3 separate regions of the Homo sapiens genome follow, and all the other regions are linked to region 1. Evidence: promoter capture Hi-C in human tissues and cell types (Jung and others, 2019). All regions are on one chromosome and are shown on one strand. Each heading gives the region's core, a stretch centred on a gene start or on the middle of the fragment in contact. The rest is flanking DNA. Distances are from core to core; before and after follow the strand shown. Region 1 holds the start of SLC7A14 (solute carrier family 7 member 14). Region 2 overlaps SLC7A14 (solute carrier family 7 member 14). Region 3 overlaps SLC7A14-AS1 (SLC7A14 antisense RNA 1).

Region 1 (3,375 bases), core at 737-3,236:
AGAAAAGTCTAAACCCTGCTGTCTTGAAATATAGGCACAAACTTTTCTCAGATAGTAAATATTCATAACTATTGTGATTGTGGCTGGTGTTCCAGAAATAAAAGGCCAGGGAAATATGGAGATTTAAATCAGAAATTTATCCAGAAAAAGGTGAAACAAAGAATGCAGTTCTCCAATAATCACATCCCCTGAGCTACAGGCATACATGCAGACTTAGAGCAACACACCAACATTTTAGTAGCTGCATATTCCATGACAAATCCCATCTTCCCATCTTATCACCCTCATAATTCATTTGGACTAGAATAGACTCAGGGTTTTCTTCAGCCCATAGTATTCATACTCTTTACCTTTTACAGTGACTTCTCATGTGCTATCCCATCTAAACATCACAACCATCTTATATAGAAGGCAGGTAGACATTCCTTTCCCATTCTGAAGATGAGAGTCTGACAATTTAAGTGATTTGTGAAAAATCATATGATAAGTAGCTGGCAGAACCTGCACTGAGATTCCAAATTTCTGATTTTTTAACTTTGCACTTTTCCTACAATGTCTCACAGCTTCTTGGTGATCCCAGGAGGTCTAACATATCCTGCAGAACTACTCAAAGCTTAAAATATGGGGATATTGTCAGGCTTAGATGCTCATCGAAGGCAGTAACAAGCTTGAGGTAGGTGGACTAACCAAGACTGTCCTGGCAATGATCAAGCAACTTTCTGGGAAGAGCCCAGGGCAGACCCACAAAGTAGAGCTAGATTTGAACTGCTCCACCCTAGAGGAGTATCAGTCAGCCAGTATTCTCCCCAAACACAAGCCCAGTGAATTCATTTCCAAGGATAGGAGAGTTACATTTTGTTGCCTCCCATGTGTTTTGAGGGCTTGGGCCAAAGTGCAAGAATTTATGTAGATAACTTTCATCCAAATCAGTCTACTCAATGCTTGTTAAATAATTCATTCGGTGATGTGGCCAAGCATGCCTGGGTTGGTCCCATCTAGTCCCAATCCTTTTGGGACATAACCTGGCTCTAGGACACTCATCTTAAAGGAGCTAATACAAAACAGAAACCTTATCTCACTCTTGTCTCCGTTTAGACTGGTACTTGTCTAGCCTGACCTCACAGATGCCTCCTTCCATGTTTAAAAGATGCTTTCACTGTATTAGCACACATCACATCCTTCTTGCCTTGTGAAATTTATTTTAACAAAGGTGGGGGAAAAAGAACTCTCCTTTATTGAGCTCCAAATACCTGTCCAACTCTAGGCTAGGCAATTCTAAGAACATGATGATTTCTCAATCTCATGACAATACTGCAAGGTGGTTATTTCACAGACGAGAGAAGAAAAGCTAGAAAGTTAAATGCTCCAAGGTCATACAGATTGGAATCCTAATGGCTCTTCAAATCTCAAGTCCATGATCTTTGCACCCATAAGATGTTGTGAACCCAACGATAAACTTAAGCTTTGAAGACAGAGGTGGGTCTTGTCTTCTTTAGGAGGAGAGGAGAAATCAACCTCTCTCATTTTTTCTTTCCTGTAGGGCTCAGGGATGTGGAAGTTTAAGAGCAACGAAGGCTCCGCAGAGGATGAGGGAAGCTTCCAGAGGGCAGGAAGGAGGTCTGGACAGCCCAGTCTAGCAGGGGCAGAGCTGCGGCAGATGCCTTCCCAACGCACAGACATTGCAGAGTCCTGCTGGTCCCTGCTTTCCCAGGGCAAAGAACTGCCCCCATCCACGGCCCCCTCAACCTCCCTGCAGCCTGACATAAGACACTGGAGGTCACAACTGGAGGCTCAGAAGGCCAGCGAGGAGTTGTGAGCGGCAGACAGAGGGGAAGGCAGGGGGGCCAGGTGGGAGGTGGTCTGGTGCCAGGCTTGGGCCCAGTATGTAAGGGGTTGGGCAGGCCATGTGACTCCAAGGAGGCGGAGACAGGCGAGCTGGAGGGAGGACGAGCAGGCACGGGGAGGGGTTCGGGGGGTGGGGGCCCAATCTGAATAATTGAGGAGCTGTTCAGCAGCAGCGGCTGCCTCCTGCCTTCCTTTGCCGCCACCACCACTTCCCATCCCAGCTAGAGAGACAGCTCCGCGCAGTAAGTGCGGACTGCCAGCCACCAGCCTTGGCAGCCAGCTCGTCGCCTCCAGCCCCGACCCCGGTAAGTGAACGGCCCCCTTCGCTGCCGTTTGTCCCCCTCCGCGCCCCCCGCGCCCCAGCGGGACCCCTGCAACTGGGATGGCCGCCTCTCCCGGAATGACCCAGGGAGCCGGAGTCACCGGGAGCGGGGGACCAGGAATATGGCGCGGAGGCCCAGGGCGCCCTCCGAGAAGGGGTTCCCTGGAAGAACCGAGGAGGTGGGTCGGGCTCTTTCCTGCTCTGGCCCGGAATGAGGCCCCGACTGCCCGCGGTCTGGGGGCACCGGGCTCTGACTCGCGGGAGCTGCCGGGCGGGGCGGGGGCCAGCGCGGCTCCGGCGCCGCTAGAGCGGGAGGCAGAAGGGGAGCCGCGAGCGGAATGCGGGCAGCCTAGGTCTCGGCAGACGCCGGGCCCGTCCTGTCCCCCGCCTTGGCGCGCACCCCGCACGGGCAGCTCCGTTCTCCGCCTCGGACCGAGACCATGAAACGGAGACGCTTTTCCGGCCGCAGACTCCGGGGAGGTCGGGAGCAACGTCTGCCCTTTTACCTGGGAGCAAACTCCTCAAAGGGACTCCCGCCGAGCCCAGCACCCCGACCAGGATGGTGGCGCCCCGAGGGGCGTCTGTCCCCGGAGAGTGGTGACTCTCCCGGGAGCGGCGAAGAGGACGTGACGGGAGCGGTGTCCAGGGAAGCTCCCTGCCCAGAGCCGGCAGCCCCAGCAAGGGGAGCTCTCCTGCACTGCTTCAACCCTCAGTCTCCTCTCTTCTCCCATTCCAAAGCACATCAGCTCCCCTCTAATCCAAGAGGGCCAGGTTAGGGCTGCGTGGCCACGCGGGATGCAGCCCCCACCCTCCTTCTCTCTCCTGTGTCACCCTGCCCCCTCCCCAAATGAGTATTTTATATTGCGATTGAAGAGTGAGCAAAGCAAAGGCGAGAAGAGATGCAGGAAGGCTAGAGCAGCGGGGCTCGCTCCTGTTCTGGCACTCCTCATCCCCCCACCTGTGTGAAGCTCGTTTCCTTGAGATTTTGAGCGGAGACACTCAAAGGAACTGGCTCTGGCGAAGGGATCCCCGCCTGAGTGTCGGTGAACGTCACTGGCCCGAATTGCCCAAGGGCCGCAGGATGTCACCCTGCCTCCCCCTAGGTATAGGGTCTAGGAGAGCGCTGGGGGCAAGGTAGCTCTCCTCCTCCGACTGAGTGCAGGGAATGGCGCTGTCCGCGGTGCTGAAAGTTCTCAGAGGCTGGGTGC
Region 2 (3,358 bases), core at 254-2,753, 78 kb after region 1:
TTGTCCAGGCTGGAGAGCAGTGGCGCGATCTTGGCTCACTGCATCCTCTGCCTCCAGGGTTCAAGTGATTCTCCTGCCTTAGCCTCCTGAGTAGCTGGAATTACAGGCATGCATCACCACGCCCAGCTAATTTTGTATTTTTAATAGAGACAGGGTTTTGCCATGTTGGTCAGGCTGGTCTCGAACTCCCGACCTCAGGTGATCCACCCACCTCGGCCTCCCAAAGTGCTGGGATTACGGGCATGCACCACCACGCCCGGCTAATTTTGTATTTTTCGTAGAGACAAGGTTTCTCCATGTTGGTCAGGCTGGTCTCGAACTCCTGACATCAGGTGATCCACCCACCTTGGCCTCCCAAAGTGCTGGGATTACAACCATGCACCACCACACCAGGCTAATTTTTGTATTTTTAGTAGAGACGGGGTTTTGCCATGTTGGTCAGGCTGGTCTCGAACTCCTGACCTCAGGTGATCTGCCTGCCTCGGCCTCCCAAAGTGCTGGGATTACAGGTGTGAGCCACCGTGCCCGGCCAGTTGGTTACATTTAATCAACAAATTATTAAACTTCCTTGACCTGTTTTGGGGGGTGACTTCTCTGACTCAAAGGACAACTTATTTCCTACCTGTTTATATGTTGATATATTTGGGGCAGTGGTTTGGCAGACTTGGGAGTTCTCTATTCCCTACCCAACTTTAATTGGAGCCCTGTCAGGTTCAATAACATGATGTCATACACCCCTGATTAATGATGCTGCCTGTCCCCTAAACACAGGTGGTTACTGTCCACCTGGCGCCTGCTTGGGCAGAGAAATCATAAGTCTCTTCTTAGACACAAAGAAACATAGGCATTCCCAGACAAATTGCTTTTCCTTCAGACACCTTTGTAAAAATTGCCTGGGCTTCCCTGACAGGTGATGGAGTGACCGAGGTTGCTCAAGTAGAAGAGACAGTAGCAGTGAGGCTGAAGGGACAGAGCACCTGACCAATCACTCCCTGAAAAACCCACAGTTTTCGTGGCTAACCAAGGGCATCGGGAAGAGGACATCAGTGCAGGTTCACTGGGTCCAGCCGCATATGACAGGGCCTGGATAGATGTTTCTCAGGACCCAGCAACCTGCTTCTCAAGACAGCAATAATGGGGACACTGCATTACCCACCATATGGAGCTCAGTGTCACAGAGAAAACAAATGTTTCTGAGAGAATTCACACTTCATTTCTCTCTGAGGTCCTGTGATTTCTCTTCATACCCCACTCCCCATCTACATTTAGGCAGGACTAGCAACAATAGCTACATATACAGCATGCCTTAGCCCCGCTGCGGCTGCATAAACGGAACAGAGATGTTTTAAGAAAAGTAAGGAAATCAGAAGAAAATAAGTAACAACTCAGCAAAATGCTGTATTTGGTGAGGACTTTCTTACAGACATGTTTGGGCCTAAGTAGTGAATTTCACCAGCGTAACCCAACGGCTGATTCCATCCTGTGTCTGGGAGATGGCAGATAGTTGGCACTTGGGAAGAATTGACTTCATGGATGAGAAATCACTGACCTCATCCATTTGCTAGATCAGCCCACCCCAACCTTCCTGCCTACCCAGTGTGAAGTATAAGACACAGTATGCGCAAAATACCTAATAGGGCCTGATATCAGCAACCTATGGCCCACTCAAGGCAGCCTGACCGAACCTCTGAGCAACGCTCCAGTTGTTGCTGATCCCAGAGGCCTGCATGAAACTGTAAAGTTGGCAAATTGTTTTCTTGGACACCTGCCTCCACTCCCTCTCATAATTCTTGATAGCCTCTTTCCTTTTGGACAGTCTTTCTGGTTGGTTGGTTTTCTGGTCTGTTTCCTCCATGATACTATAAGGCCCACAAAAAAGAGACTGTATTCTTCCTGTTCACCTTTGAATCCTTAAAAGCTGATATAGATACATAGAGATGATCCCTTACCAGTGCATGGGATAAATGAATGAGTGAATTAGAAAGCTGCTAAGGCTGGATATCAGGAGACCTCAGGTCTAGCCCAAACTCTGCCATTAATTGAATACGCAGCTTCAGATCTGGAGCTCAGTTGCATCATCTATAAAATAAAAGAACAACTCTGATGAGCAACTGACACCTCTTCCCATTCCCATGCTCAGTACAGCCCTGGGGGTCCACAGAGGAGGGTGAGGGGCTTTGGGGAAGTATGGGATGAAGGAGACCTTGAGCAGACCAGCCTCGGTTCTCCCACCCTTCAAACGGAGCCACCTGCTTTTACCTATTTATGTATTGGGCTCTCAAATAAGACTGTGTGTGGAAAATAGAGTTCTACAACTAAGAGAGAGCTTTAAACTATACAAGTAGATGAACTGTACAGTCCTTTTCAGCTAGTCCACTCGTCTGTTAAAAAGGTCCCACCCCCTCAATCACTTGATCTCAGTCCACCTCTGCAGGCTCATCTTCCACAATCTCGAAAGTAGCCTGCATGTGTCTGCCCAGCTACACCTTTTCGCCTGCCTGAAACCACCCTTTCCTCTATTTTTTTTCTGACTGGCAAAGCCCAGCTTACCCTCCAAGAAGTAGCTTAAAAGGCTCCCTCCCCCAGTCTCCGGGCTTCCACAGCAACCAAAGAACCGTGCTCCTAAGAACCACGCTCACCGCACTGAGCTCCAAGAACACCTCATAAATGCTCAATAGTATTAAATACTGGCCACATGGAATCAGCTGTTTATTAAACTCTTTCCTGATTGAAATATAGATGCTTCAAGGTCAGGAAATCTGTCTTACCATTTGTGTCTCTGTCATTCATTGCACTTCCTCATTTCATAGCCACTTAATGTGTGTGGAATAAAGGAAGGAAATTAGAAAGTCAAAAATTATTTGGGAAACTGTTAAATGAGCTGATAAGTAGGTTAGGGAATAGTCAAAGTAAGATAAGTTACATATTAATGGGAAAATCTGTCTATCTGGGTAGAGTAATTGGCATTCAAGTGTGAATAACCCCTAGATTTAATCCTTCCAGGTGAAAGTACACTTATTTAAAAGTACTTATTTATCTAATGGCTTTCTTTGGTGGAATGCAGAGGGAAATTTATGTCTTAAGTGGAGAAGCCTTTCTCCACTTATGATCAGGCAACATAATAATTGAATTCATCATATTATATAAACTGTACCCCCAATAACTTACCCCTTAAGTGGAAAAGCTTCCCCACTTAAAAATAGAATTTTCCTCCTTTTGCCTACTCCCAGCTGGGTCTTTCTCCTTTACCCTGTTAGGAAGGAGAAGTTTTGCTTCCTGGTTCTAAAAGGGCAATAGGGAATCCGGGTAGGCTGCAAGTGACTCAGCAGAATTAGAGAGGGAGAAGCATGTCGTGATT
Region 3 (3,166 bases), core at 443-2,942, 93 kb before region 1:
TCCATTTTAGCAGTGTTGAAATAGCAAATCTTGGAAGTCTACTATGAATGAGTGCCAATAATAGACTGGTTAAATCACTTTATGGCACATCCATCAATAGAATATTGTGCAGCCATTAAAAATGAGGCCGCTTTTTCTGATGTAGAAAGATCTTTAAGGTATGTTAAATGAAAAAAGAAGATATGGAACAGTGTGAATGTTTGTATAAAGAGTAAGCATTTATGAATTTACATGTATTTTTATATTCACATATATTATATATTTATAGGCTATCTTCAGAAGGATGCATAAGAACCTAGTAAGATAGCCTGCCTCCTGTGAGGGAAGCTGAGTGACTTTGGTGACTAGAGGGAAAGAAACTTTTCACTTTGTACCTTTTGAATTTTGTACCATGTCCAGGTACTATTTAGGAAAACAATTGTTTTTAACAATTTAAAAGAGGTCTATAATCCTCTGCTGAGGCCCAAGGAGGTAAACCACAAGCCCAAGGTCACAAAAGGTGGGAAGAAACGAAACCAGGGATTAGCACTGGATTCGTCTGATTCCCACATCCACACACTTTCCTCAGCACCACGCTGCTGTTCGTCCAATTCTCCTCTGCATCACAGCTAATGATGAGATCCTAAGGCTGAAATAGAGCTCTCACCATCTAAAGGGGCCCATTTCCCACCTTCAGCAGGAATATTTTGAACTTAACCTGAAAGAGACCTGCCTCTTACTAAAAGAAATCCAGGAAGGAGATTACCTTAGTTTTCCTGTTTCAGTATCTTACGAATAATTTTATTTAGCAAAGCTTCTTTTCAACATTTGGTAGCAAACCAAGCTCCTGAATAATTTACAAAATAAAAATTTCATAAACCTATACTGTGGCTTCAAGTTAGCACCTTGAAATACTGATTCATTCATTTCAAGAGCGTTTATTGGGCTTGGAGGCCTGTTGGGAGATGAGTTGAGCATGCAGGAATCTACGATATGAGGAAGAATGTGATGCCAACTATAAGCAAGACAGGCAGGAGGCTCCTTCAGAGCCCAGGTCACATGCCACAGGTCCATAGGGCCCAGCCAGTGCCATGAGTGAGCAGCAGGGCCCCTGGGGGCATGGAAAGCTCAAGCCCTGTCTCAAGGGGCAACCACTGCTCCCCTCTCCTCTATCAATGCCTTATGGGAATGAGGGATCCATGTTGTTTATCTTCCTATTTCATGTGGAATCTCTTAACTTTTATGTAGTGGCTTATAAATTTTAAAAGCCACCAGGCATCTCAGATAAAATGTGTCTGTGGGTAAGTTTGAAAGTCTTGCTGTAGTGTTTTCATGCACTTCCTAGAATTCCCCCATGGACAAAGAGGCAGTTCAATGTTTGGGCCAAAATCAAAAGCCCTTTTCTCAGTCTGGGTGTAGAGAAAACTCCCAGTGTGGTAGCCTTGTTCTCTTGGCCCTGATTTCCCCTTACCCTGTCACCATTTCCTTAGACTGTCCTTGCAGACAAATCTTCAACTCTGAATTTCCAGAGCAAATTTTCCCAAAGGGTTTTCTGCAGCCCACCTCTCACAGACATGTCTTATCTTTAAGAGCTGCTCATGGGGTAACTATTCCTGTAATAATGGTGATGTCCTGGATGTGATACATTGCTGTCTTACCAACTGCTCACACCTAGTGAAAAAACAGTAGTGAAAGCCATCTTTGTCCCCAGGTATCTTCATTATTGACTTTAATTCAGGGCTTTCCTCGCTTAGAATTGCCATGGCATTGGAAGGGTCAGGAGAAGGGACTAAGCTCTAGAATTTTGAGAATTTTCTAAAGAGAACTTGAATATGGGGGCAGACTAGTCTTCTAGCCAAGAAACTTGGGTTTCAGCCCTTGTTCTGCTGCTGTGTGACCCTGGGCAAGTCATTGTTGCCAGTTAAATATCCATTTGCTCCTCGATACAATGCAGACTCTGATGAGAATATCCCTAATGTCCCTTCTGGCCCTTGTTGTCGAGTTTCCCTGATCCTGATCTGAGTGGACTTAGTGGACATAGAGAAAGCTACTCTCAGTAAGAACTTGGTGGATTGACACATGGCTGATTTAAATAATAACTGTCAGGGCTCTGAGCCCAAGCTAAGCCATCATATCCTCTGTGACCTGCACGTATACATCCAGATGGCCGGTTCCTGCCTTAACTGATGACATTCCACCACAAAAGAAGTGAAAATGGCCTGTTCCTGCGTTAACTGATGACATTGTCTTGTGAAATTCCTTCTCCTGGCTCATCCTGGCTCAAAAGCTCCCCTACTGAACACCTTGTGACCCCCCACTCCTGCCCACCAGAGAACAACTCCCTTTGACTGTAATTTTCCTTTACCTACCCAAATCTTATAAAACGGCCCCACCCCTGTCTCCTTTCACTGACTCTCTTTTTGGACTCAGCCCGCCTGCACCCAGGTGAAATAAACAGCCATGTTGCTCACACAAAGCCTGTTTGGTGGTCTCTTCACACGGACACGCATGAAATTTGGTGCTGTGACTCAGATCAGGGGACCTCCTTTGGGAGATCAATCCTCTGTCCTCTTGCTCTTTGCTCTGTGTAAAAGATCCACCTACGACCTCAGGTCCTCAGACCCACCAGCCCAAGGAACATCTCACCAATTTTAAATCGGGTAAGCGGCCTCTTCTTACTCTCTTCTCCAACCTCTCTCACTAACCGTCAGCCACTTTCTCCTTTCCACTCTTCTGTCTCTCCCTTCTCTTAATTTCAATTCCTTTCATTTTCTGGTAGAGACAAAGGAGACACATTTTATCTGCGAACCCAAAACTCCGGCGCCGGTCATGGGCTGGGAAGGCAGCCTTCCCTTGGTGTTTAATCATTGCAGGGATGCCTCTCTGATTATTCACCCATGTTTCAGAGGTGTCAGACCATGCAGGGATGCCTGCCTTGGTCCTTCACCCTTAGCGGCAAGTCCCATTTTTTGGGGGGAGAGGCAAGTACCCCAACCCCTTCTCTCCATGTCTCTACCCCTTCTCCACCTTTCTGGGGGGCAAGAAACCCCCAACCCCTTCTCCTTCACCCTTAGTGGCAAGTCCTGCTTTTCTGGGGGAGGGGCAAGTACCCCAACCTCGTATCTCTGCACCCCATCCCTTATTTCCATGCCCTGACCTCTTATATGTCTGCACCCTGATCCCTTAT

The links. The method cuts DNA at HindIII sites, captures the fragments that hold promoters and counts their contacts. A contact is called where the count stands out against the background at its distance.
Region 2: a contact is called between a fragment that was not itself captured here and the fragment with the promoter of SLC7A14 in region 1, in 2 of the 25 tissues and cell types used here (aorta and mesenchymal stem cells).
Region 3: a contact is called between a fragment that was not itself captured here and the fragment with the promoter of SLC7A14 in region 1, in 2 of the 25 tissues and cell types used here (mesenchymal stem cells and pancreas).

The regions. Positions count from the first base shown.
Region 1 is chr3:170,584,686-170,588,060 of GRCh38, reverse strand. SLC7A14 (solute carrier family 7 member 14) reads left to right here and starts at 1,986. Exons shown (of 8, transcript NM_020949.3): 1 at 1,986-2,150. The region is part of intron 2 of SLC7A14-AS1 (SLC7A14 antisense RNA 1); the gene reads right to left. RefSeq lists a silencer at 3,207-3,375. The HindIII fragment of the contact is 10,108 bases long and covers 1,066-3,375 here.
Region 2 is chr3:170,506,701-170,510,058 of GRCh38, reverse strand. The region is part of intron 2 of SLC7A14 (solute carrier family 7 member 14); the gene reads left to right. All of the region lies in intron 2 of SLC7A14-AS1 (SLC7A14 antisense RNA 1), which reads right to left. Among named protein-coding and RNA genes, the nearest start is that of SLC7A14-AS1, 41 kb to the right of the region's middle. The HindIII fragment of the contact is 8,214 bases long and covers 1-3,358 here.
Region 3 is chr3:170,677,176-170,680,341 of GRCh38, reverse strand. All of the region lies in intron 2 of SLC7A14-AS1 (SLC7A14 antisense RNA 1), which reads right to left. Among named protein-coding and RNA genes, the nearest start is that of SLC7A14, 93 kb to the right of the region's middle. RefSeq lists an enhancer at 1,964-2,465. The HindIII fragment of the contact is 4,059 bases long and covers 1-3,166 here.